2 separate regions of the Homo sapiens genome follow, and region 1 is linked to region 2. The links are contacts of gene promoters, found by promoter capture Hi-C in human tissues and cell types (Jung and others, 2019). All regions are on one chromosome and are shown on one strand. The core of a region is centred on a gene start or on the middle of the fragment in contact, and the rest is flanking DNA. Distances in the headings are between cores, read along the strand shown. Region 1 has its middle 140 kb from the start of ZFP64. Region 2 holds the start of KCNG1 (potassium voltage-gated channel modifier subfamily G member 1).

Region 1 (4,968 bases), core at 2,458-4,957, 1.0 Mb after region 2:
AAAAAAAAGAAAACTGGACTGCCCTTTGTTAGTTGCTATATTTGATGTAGCAAGTACTCCTAGAGAAAAGCACGAAGCCTCCACATGGCTTTACTCCTCACTGGAGGGTGACTAGGCTAGAAAATGAGATGAGTATTCAAAATATTGATCCCAAAGAGTTCCTATCCTTTGACGAATAAGTAAGAAAATGCATGTGAAAATGGAAAAAAAAAATTTAAAAAAATCGCAAACATCTTTAAAGTAATTTCCAAATCTTAATTATATATGTACATTTTTTAAAAGATTGTCTCATTTTATTTTTTGTATTGAGGTCAAATTCACTTAACAAAATCAACCATCTTAAAGTATACAATTAAGAGACACTTAGTCATTCATGATGTTGCACAGCCCCCAAGCTGGATTATCTTCACAAACATGTACATTGCACAGGGCTCTGGGCACGATGGGCTTTGCTATTTTATCGTATAGTCATTTAGTGTCCCTCAAGGACACTTGGCTCCTGAAGATTTTCCCAACCCTAGGCCTCTGGCTCATACTGGGTTTCCTGCCTCTTCTACATCTTGTCGTTGAATTTCAAAGCTTTATAACACACTAAACAAATTGCTATGGGTCTTAATTCACAGTCTCTTTGATATGTGGCTGGTTTATACAGCAAGTAAATGTCTGGGTCTCTGATTGGTTACAAAGCCAAAAATAATCCAGATAATGAGAAAATTTTAATTATAACCATACTTGGTTTTAAAGGCCCCCAGATTCTGTTTGTTTGCTTATTTATTTGAGACAGGGTTTCACTTTGTCGCCCAGGCTAGAATGCAGTGGTGCAATCATGGCTCACTGCAGCGTCGACCTCTCAGGCTCAAGTGATCCTCCCACCTCAGCCTCCCAATAGCTGGGATTCCAGGTGCACGCCACCATGCCCAGCTAATTTTTGGTGGAGACGAGGTTTTGCCATGTTGCCCAGGCTGGTCTTGAATTCCTGACCTCAAGTGATGCGCCCGCCTCAACCTCCCAAAGTGCTGGGTTTACAGGAATGAGCCACCTCGCCCTGAATATTTACATACAAACTCAAAATAATCTCCTCTGCCCTTTGTCAGGTTGTTTGATGGGGGATAGATTCAATGCTTACTGTTGAAAATTTCCAGAATAAATTTGGGCTCTATAACATTTAATACTTATAAGTGCACTGAATTATAGAAGACAGTTCAAAGCTTTTCCTATACTGATAATTTGAACTATCATTTCTTTTCAAATGCAAATAAGTTCTTTGGGGGTATTATTAGAAAAAAATTAAAACTCCATTATTTGCATCATAGTGTAGGAGGATTACTTTTTAAAATAATGACTGTTTTCACCCAAACCCCCGCCCTGCTTTAGCTTCCAGACAGGTAGTTAGAGATTCACAAAAAAAGAGAAATCCTGGCTATTCTTTGAAGCTACAAACAAGCCCTGCATTTCTGTATGTTCTTAGAAAAAGCTCTGGCCAGGCAGTTTTTTTGTGTGTGTGATCACACCAGTAGCATCACTGAGTTCAAAGTGGGGGGAAAACCCATTTTAACAATGCAAGAATTTCCCAAAGTCCAAACGCCCGGGCCACACCGCTCCCACAAATGGAAATAGTATCAGATCTGCATCATAATTGATCCTCCAGATTTCCACCCACAAAAGAAGGATGTGGTCAGTAAGAACAAATAACACAGGGGCCGCGGAGAGAAGCTTTTTTGCAAACTTTCCCCTCACTCCACCCACAAAAGTCAGGCAACCGACGTACATGTCAGCATAATCGCTCAAGATATGATCGCGTTTGAGGCTTATGAAATGTTATCAAACGCAGTGGACAAGCACATCGGCGATATTTCTTTTTTCCGCTGAGATGTGAACTGCTGATAAATATCCATGGTTGAGTTTTTTCCATACTTTGATTCTTCAAAAGCTAAGCCATTCAAGGTGTCAAGGCTTTTTGCCCCTGCCTTCCACAGACAACAAGGGGGAGAAAAAAGAAAAAAAGAAAAAAGAGGATGAAAATGAGGGGGAATAAGAGAAAAAAAAATGGACACAGATAAAAGAAATTAAGCGAGCCATAATGTCTGTGCTTTATTTTAACTGGGTTGTCCTGTCCCGCTGTGCAGCCCATAATCCAAGCTGGGAGAGAGGCCCCCGCTGGGTAGCTAATTAAAACAATTATAAATACAAAGAAGGTATCAATGGCATTCCAAGACTCAAACAAAGAGATAAAGCACTGAAGATTTAAATTGTCAATGGCCAGTCTCTTTAGGCAATTCTGAAGAGGAGTCAGTGTCCCCAAGTCCCCCGAACTCCTTTGTAAACTGACTTATGTTTGGTTACAGGGGACCCTCCTCCCTCCTTTTTGGGGGGCTTATCGACATGAAAATTCATCAGTGATGGAATTAAGGGAAGTTAATTTATAGGCTCACATACAGTTATTTGTCCTGGCGCGTCAGAATAGTGGACCTGAGTTTAAAATTAAAATCTAATCTGGAAAAAAGACCCCAGCCCTCCTTATTGAATCAGTATTTTTATTCGTATTTTTTGGCAAGAAATTAGATGCAGGTATCAGTATTTTTAAAGACAAGAAAACAAACAAAAAGATCTTTTAGCCCCAATTGAAAGTGACACAAACCGTTTTTTTTTTTTTTAAGTACTGTGGGCAACTTTAGGAATGTTAAAAATGTAGCAAGTGTGCTAGACTACTTTCTCAGTGTATTTTTATAAAATGATTTGCAGAATCAAACTTACCCAACAAAAATAGAAAGCTTTCCTAATTTCTTAGACCTAGGATTTCCCCTGCCTGCTTTCTGGCTTTTGTAGAGCACTTAAAGGAACACTCAAATCATACATGCTAAGAGATAGCAGCCCAGTGCAGTTTAAAGGGACTCTCAGCCTACAGTCTGAACGAATAGAATGGATCGCAGAAGTTTCCAGGTGGGTCCCTTGGAGAGGGTGGTCAGTTTGCTCTCAAGAGCTGGGTGTGATCAGCGACAGCCTGAGCTCCAGGGCCTGGCCAGTGTGCTACAGGAGAGAGAGCCAAAGGCCTCAGCTCTTAGAAGGCTCACTCGGCCTCAGCTCTTAGAAGGCTCACTCTGAAAAGGAGGTGGTGACAGCAACTCTGGTCCTTCTTTTCACCATGAAAGAAAGCGCAGTAACTGGTGTAACTGGTAAAAGCCAAAAGGGAGGGAGGCAATTAAGGTCGAGGAGACTGATAAGAACTCAGTAGGGGTCAGAGCCCTTCTCCTACTCCTTCACCCACCCTCCTCTGCTCCTTTCTCAGCTCCTCCCACTACCACTCCTTTTTCTTCTCCCCTCTTCCCCTCCTCCTTTTCCCTCCTTTTCTTCTTCTTCTAATTCCTCTTCCCTCTTTTTTTTTTTTTCTTTTTTTTGAGACGAAGTCTTATTCTCTTGCCCAGGCTGGAGTGCAGTGGTGTGATCTTGGCTCCTTCCAACCTCAGCCTCCCGGGTTCAAGCGATTCTCCTGACTCAGCCTCCCAAGTAGCTGGGATTACAGGCGAGTGCCACCATGCTGGGGTAATTTTTGTATTTTTAGTAGAGACAGGGTTTCACCATGTTGGCCAGGCCAGTCTCGAACTCCTGACCTCAAGTGATCCACCCACCTCAGCCTCCCATAGTACTGGGATTACAGGCGTGAGCCACCATGCCCGGCCTCCTCTTTTAATCTTCCTCCTCCTGGCTGGGCATGGTGGCTCACGCCTATAATCCCAGCACTTTGGGAGGCTGAGGCAGGCGGATCACGAGGTCAGGAGTTCGAGACCAGCCTGGCCAACATGGTGAAACCCCGTCTCTAGGAAAAATACAAAAAATTAGCTGGGCATGGTGGCGCATGCCTCTAATCCCAGCTACCTGGGAAGCTGAGGCAGGAGAATCGCTTGAACCCAGGAGGCAGAGGTTGCAGTGAGTGGAGATCATGCCACTGCACTCCAGCCTGGACGACAGTGTGAGACTCCGTCTCAAAAATAAATAAATCTTCCTCCTCCAATTCTTCTTCTTATCTTCCTTCTCCTTTATCTTCTTTTCCTTCTCTTCCTCCTTATACTTTTTTCCCTTCTTCCTCTTCTCCTTCTGCTTCTCCCCTTCCTCCTCCTTCCTCCTCCTCTTTCTCCTCTTCTTCCTTTTTTACTTTGCCTCTATTTGTAAGGAGATTGAGACTTTCTTCTTTAGGAATATCCATGGCTTTTCACTCTTTGCCTTTGTGCAAGTAATTGGAAGATGTGCTTCTTTCCTGGGTGGAAATATTATCAATAAAAAAGATGGAGGTCTGAGACTGAATGGAAACATTGGCCTGAAGCATTTGCCACAGGTGATGGTGATTACCAAAAAGAAAAATGGGATTTGACCAGAATGACTTTGTTTTCTGGGCTAAAAACTTTGCCTAATAAAGCACCTTAGCTGATGTATGTATTTATGAGTTATTATGTGTCTAGAGTATTAACATAAAGTACAGAGGCTCCTCTGGTTATGAATGTTCAATTCAGAACTGATTTGAACAAAAAGTCCACACGGAAGCAAAAGTGTGGCCGGGCGCGGTGGCTCAAGCCTGTAATCCCAGAACTTTGGGAGGCTGAGGTGGGCGGATCACCTGAGGTCGGGAGTTCCAGACCTGCCTGACCAACATGGTGAAACCTCGTCTCTACTAAAAAAATACAAAAATAGCCGGGCGTGGTGGCGCATGCCTGTAATCCCAGCTACTCGGGAGGCTGAGGCAGGAGAATCGCTTGAACCCAGGAGGTAGAGGTTGCGGTGAGCCAAGATCGCGCCATTGCACTCCAGCATGGGCAACAAGAACAAAACTCTGTCCCCCACCGCCCCCAAAAAAAGAAGCAAAAGAGTGATAATTCAGCCCATTGCCAACACAGGGCGATAGATACTGGGATCTGACATTTACTTCTCAAAGTTTCTGGGGTGAGACAAGGACTGAAACTCGCTTAAGAGGCAGAG
Region 2 (5,538 bases), core at 438-2,937:
CCGACCGCAAGGCCCCAATCAGCAGTGCCAAACTTTTCTTGGAGATGTGCTGCCGGTGAGGCTCTTCATAGGGACTCTGCCATCATGGGTATGGGGGTATCAAACACACACTAATGAATAAACCTCTGCTCAGATTCATAGGGCAGGAACTTCCCCCACCCCACAATGAATCAGACCAGTTCCTGCTCCCTCCTCTTACTTCCCCCTGTACTTATCTCAGGGAGTCAGCAAAGGGGGTGGGGGCGTCTGTGTCTGTCTCCCTCTTCTATGTGTCTGTCATTTACCTGGGTAACTTTGGTGCCTGGCACCCTTTAAGTGCTTAATAACAGCGAGTGCTTAAGAAAATGCCTGCTGAATGGACAACCTAACTCATAAACCCCATTGGTGGGAACCTGCATTCCTCAGTAATGTCGGATCAGTGTTTCTCAACTCCTCCCCACCCTACCCCATCACCCGCCCCTAAGGAGCTTTGAAAAGATCTTTTCTTCCTATTCTAGAACCAATTCCAGCTTCCACACCTCCCACCTTGAGAAGGAATGCATTAGATGAACCAAGACTTCTGCCTATATACATGGGCTGCTACAGTTGGCCACCCCGGCAGTCTGCGGCCTCCCAAGCGGGGGCCTGGGTCTTAATCCTTACTTCTCTCTAAGCTGCATGAAGGGTGCCCCCATTCCATCCCTCTTCACTTCTCCCCAGCATAGCGCCTCCATAAATGTTTGTGAACTGGATGAATGACTGTTGAGCGCTTGGTATGATGAGCTGCTTACAATAGGTGCTCAACCAATCTTTGTCCAATCTATGAATGAATGAATGAACTTCACCCTTTTCCTTCCATACCTCCGGGCTGAGCCTCTCTCCCACATGGAAACCCTAAGGCTGAGACCACCACCTTCCTACCAGTTCCTGGGGGTGCCCAGTGAACTGTCTCAGTATCCCCAGTGCCTAGCACACAGTAGGCGCTCAATAAACGCTTGCTGTGTTCATAATGAATGACTCAATCAGGCCCACGGTGGGGGTGAAGGGGGGCTCCATACTGTGCCTAAGGATACAGTGAATGAGCAAGTGACACACACTCCCCCACCCCAATCCCTAACTCTCCTTCCTCCCAGGATCGGGGGAGAAACCTCGGCCCACAGCCGGGATGCGCCCCCGCCGGGGTCACCGCGGCGGCGAACGTCCCGGACTTCGCATCCCGGTGACCCCTTGGGATGAACCGAAGCCGGACCCGCACCTTGGCCGTAACAAGCGCGCTCCACGCCGCCACGCACCAGCGGTGACTCCCGAGTCCTCTGTCGCCCTGGCCTCCCCGCAGGCGGGTTTCGAGGCCCCCGCAGGGAGTTCAGGGCCACGGCCACGTGCAGCCGCCCCCGAGCCCGAGTTTGCAGGCTCGGGGTCCGGTTCGCGCTTCGGTGGCGCCCGGCGAGGCTGCAGCGCGCAAAGTTCCCACCTCAAGTTCCCGTCGCGGCGTCCCCGCCTCGGAGTTGGCCCGGCCGCGGCTTCCGTTCCCCCCGGCTGCCCACGGGTCCGGGGCGAGGACGCGAGAGGGGCCTGGAAGTCGCCCGGGGAGCCCGCTCTGCCTCCCGGAGCCGCCGCCAAACTTCGGTCCCGGGGCCCGGCTCAGCTCCCGCCCTCGGAGCCACGGCCGCCCCGTCTCTGCCTCCCGGTCCCCGCCGGGCTCCGAGTGCGCCGGGAGCGCGGCGCAGCAGCCGCCGAGGGAGGGAGCGAGGCAGGAGGCGGGACGGAGGGAGGGGACTGAGCGCGGGGCGGGGAGAAGGGGCGGGCAGCCGAAAGCGCAGCGCCTGGCCTCGCCTCGCTTCGGGACAGTGGCAGCGGCGCCACCGTCACGGGGCGTCCAGGCGCCCAATCGGGACCCCGCACCTTGGATCCGGGGGCCCTGGCGCGCCTGCTGGATTGCGCTCCTCGCGGCCAGTTCCTGAGCCCGCGTCCGGGACTGCTCGCGCTACGCCCTCCCTCCCGTTGCCTTCTTCCCCGTCTGCTCTCCCAGGAGCGACCACCCTGCGGCCCCTTCGCCTGCACGCGACAGCCTTCAAGGTCCCCGCGCTCCGCTGCCCTGGAGCTTCACGCACCAGGCGGCGCGGCAGCCTCCTAGGGTCGCGCGCCCTGTCAGCTTTCCCCGCGGTGCAAGTGCTCCGGTGGTCCCGGGTCCGCGCCCCTAGCAGCACCGCCCCAGGGTCTACATGTGCTAGATATTAAAACCCCACTCTCCGCTGCCCCGGGGCCGCGCTCCACGCGCTTACACATCCTGGGAACCACATGCGCCATGTCTCCTGCCTTTCCCTGGAAGTCCTGGAAGTCCAAGTGCACTGCTGCCTCTGGGTCCCTCGCCCCCCTACCCCGGGCAAATACTGCATCCTTGAGGCCCTCCACGCGCTGCTGCCCTGGAGCCGAACGCTCCAAGCAAGCTTCCACATCCTGGGGGCCATATATCGCGCGCCTTTTCTCGACCTCCTAGACCAATGTTGCCCTTGGGCCCTTCCTGCCACCGCCACCCAGGGACTGCCAGCATCTTGCTGTGCCAAATTCCTAGGGCCAGTACGTACCGTGCCAGGTGTTTTCCCTTCCAGTCCCGCGGGGCCGAGGCCCCAGAGCCCTCCCGGGCTAGCAGAGCCGCACTTCGTCGTCCACTCCCCTGGCCGGTGCAGGGCACTTGGACCAGGTCCTGGGGTCTTGCTCCCAGTGTGGCCGCCTAGCCTCGGAGTTGGTAGGATGCTGCACAGATGCTGGAGGTTGGGTTGGAGGGATCTATTGGGTTGGAGGAATCTACTGAGTTGGAGGGACCTATTGGTTTGGAGGGATCTGTGCTGCTGGCAGGGCTGGCCTCTTAGGGTGGCTTGCCTTGCACTCCGTTCCTCTTCTCCTTTCTGTCTCTTGCACTCCGTTCCTCTTCTCCTTTCTGTCTCTTGCACTCCGTTCCTCTTTTCCTTTCTGTCTCTACTGCCTTTGCCTATCATCAGAGAACCAAGAAAGGACATGAAGAAACCCTGCTGCCGACCAGCCTGAGGCCTTCTGCTTGAGTGGGGCTCGGGTTGGGGAGTCGTGGGTGCTCATTAAGTGGGTTAGGGTTAACCCTAAGAAATGAGCGCAGGGCACACTAGCCTGCGCGGCAGTCCCAGCCGGGTGGAGCATAGGAGTTCCAGGTTATAGTGCACTATGATGGCACCACTGCAATCCAGCCTGCGTGACTGAGCGAGATCCAGCCTCTAAAACAACAAGAATAAAAACACTGGCTTACTGGTGAGGTGGAGGCCTGGACAGACAAGGATCTGCCTAAGGACCTGTTTCCAAGAGCTCACCTTCTACTGGGGGCTTGGCAGAATTGGGAAACTGCTGAAATACGTGATTGCAGAATGAAGCCAGAGAGGCCACTTTAGATAGAATAATGGGGGAGGGCTCCTGTGGAGGTGATGGTTACATGGAGCCCTGAGCCAGAAGGAGCCCATCTGGCAAGATGGGAAGAGAGCTTTCTAGGTGGACAGAACATCAAAGGCACTGGCCTTCAAGCAGGAGAGAAGGAGGCATGTCTGAGAAACATCAAAGAGACCAACCAGCAGTGTGGGGGAGGGGCCTGAGTGGGGTGGGGTGGGCTTTTGTTGTCAGAGGGTCCCTGGATTACATATTGAGAAACACTCCTCTTGTGGTGGATCAGGCTTCTGCCTTCCTTTCCCATCTGAAATTTTTTTTTTTTTTTTTTTTTTTGAGACATAGTCTCTCTGTGTCTCCCAGGCTGGAGTGCAGTGGTGTGATCTCAGCTCACTGCAACTTCCATCCCCCTGGGTTCAAGCGATTCTCCTGCCTCAGCCTCCTGAGTAGCTGGGACTACAGGTGTGTGCCACCATGCCCAGCTAATTTTTGTATTTTTAGTAGAGACGGAGTCTCACCATGTTAGCCAGGCTAGTTTTGAACTCGCAACCTCAAGTGATCCGCCAGCCTCAGCCTCCCAAAATGCTGGAATTACAGGCGTGAGCCACTGCACCCAGCCAGAAAATTGCTCTCTATCTTGTTTTTGAGACAGGGTCTGACTCTGTCACCCGCTGGAGTGCAGTGGTGCAATCATAGCTCACTGTAACCTCTAACTCCTGGGCTCTAGGGATCCTCCTGCCTCAGACTTCTGAGTAGCTGGGACTACCACACACCACCATGCACCACTAATTTAAAACAAAATATATTTTTTGCAGAGACAGGCGGGTCTGGAACTCCTAGGCTTAAGACATCCACCCACCTTGGCCTCCCAAAGTGCTGGGATTACAGATGTGAGCCGCTGCACCTGGCCATGTTTCTATCTTTTTTACTTGCGTATTATCTGTGTCCCCACTGGGGACCAAGCTCCATCAGGGCAAGGACTGTGTGCTGTCTCTCCCCTCTCCAGCAGCTCCCACTCTGCTAGGCACATACAGAGCAGGCTTCTTAAATGATTCCTGGAAATGATTCCTGGGGGAATTCAGGACAGTTTTCTGGAATAGATGTGACTGCGTCAGAGAGTCAGACTCCTCACTGATGCTCACAGGGTAAGGATGCAGAGCAGGGCCTCTCAGACTTTACTGTGCATCTGAATCCCCCTGAGGGCTTATTAAAACCCAGACGGCTGGCCCCCACCCTGGAGTGGCTGATTCAGTGGGTCTGGCGTAGGGTCCTTCTGAGGAGTTCCCTGCTGATGCTCATGCATCAGGTCTGGGGATCCCACTTTGAGAACCACTGATATTGAAGACTTGAACGCCTACCCAGCTGGGTCTGACTTCGGAGCCCTCATGAGGTCCCGGGACAAACTCAAGCCAGCTTCTTCTTATGTAGGATCCATAGGAACTAATGGCCACCTCTAGAGATGGGGCTGGGCTTATTAGAACACTATGCACCTGAGTCAAATTTCATAGTGACCTGCAGACAGAAGACCTGGTACACTGTGTGGAGACCGTCAGTGAGAACAATGACTTCCACCCGGTCCTGCCTACCCGCAACATACACACTCACTTGCTGTACCCAGGAGTTAAATTACTGCCTGATCTTATCCCTGACTGTGCTAAACAATGTCCAATAAAATCCTTTTAAGTCCTTTTAAGGAATTCCCTCTTTGCAGTTCCTCCCTCCCTTAGAGCCTTCCAGATTTTTCACTCTTCTCCTCATATCTTCATTTTCCTCTTGAAAAGCATCCTTCCCCAAGCTGTTGTGTGGAAAGAGATGTTGATGATACCCATGGAAGCTTCCTGAGAAAATGGGAACCGTCAGTGCTTGCTGGGCAGCTACGAGGTGCCAGGTGGTTGCTGGGTGATTTGAAGACATCAGAGCCACAACTGGGCCCGGAGGTGGACTCTGGCACGCAGACCTGTTTTATTTGTCCCTACTGAGTTAAAATTTTTAAAAATTAATTTAAAATTAGTTGCTGACCTTTAAAAACTGGGAGATTTCATGTAAAATTTTTTCTTTTGAAACACTGGGAGATCTGGCCAACATCCTTTACCCACACAGCATGCTGGCGCTGGGCAGTGGCTTCTGCTCCCTGCGGTGTGCCCCTCTACCCAC

What was found. Contacts are between HindIII fragments. The study calls those that stand out against the background at their distance.
Region 1: a fragment that was not itself captured here is called in contact with the fragment with the promoter of KCNG1 in region 2 in 1 of the 25 tissues and cell types used here (mesendoderm cells).

What each region holds. Positions count from the first base shown.
Region 1 is chr20:52,046,370-52,051,337 of GRCh38, forward strand. No RefSeq gene overlaps it. Among named protein-coding and RNA genes, the nearest start is that of ZFP64, 140 kb to the right of the region's middle. RefSeq lists enhancers at 1,485-2,004, 2,005-2,522, 2,523-3,041, 3,042-3,559. The HindIII fragment of the contact is 5,629 bases long and covers 894-4,968 here.
Region 2 is chr20:51,021,420-51,026,957 of GRCh38, forward strand. It overlaps KCNG1 (potassium voltage-gated channel modifier subfamily G member 1), which reads right to left and starts at 1,688. Exons shown (of 3, transcript NM_002237.4): 1 at 1,451-1,688. RefSeq lists a silencer at 1,617-1,786. The HindIII fragment of the contact is 10,697 bases long and covers 1-3,822 here.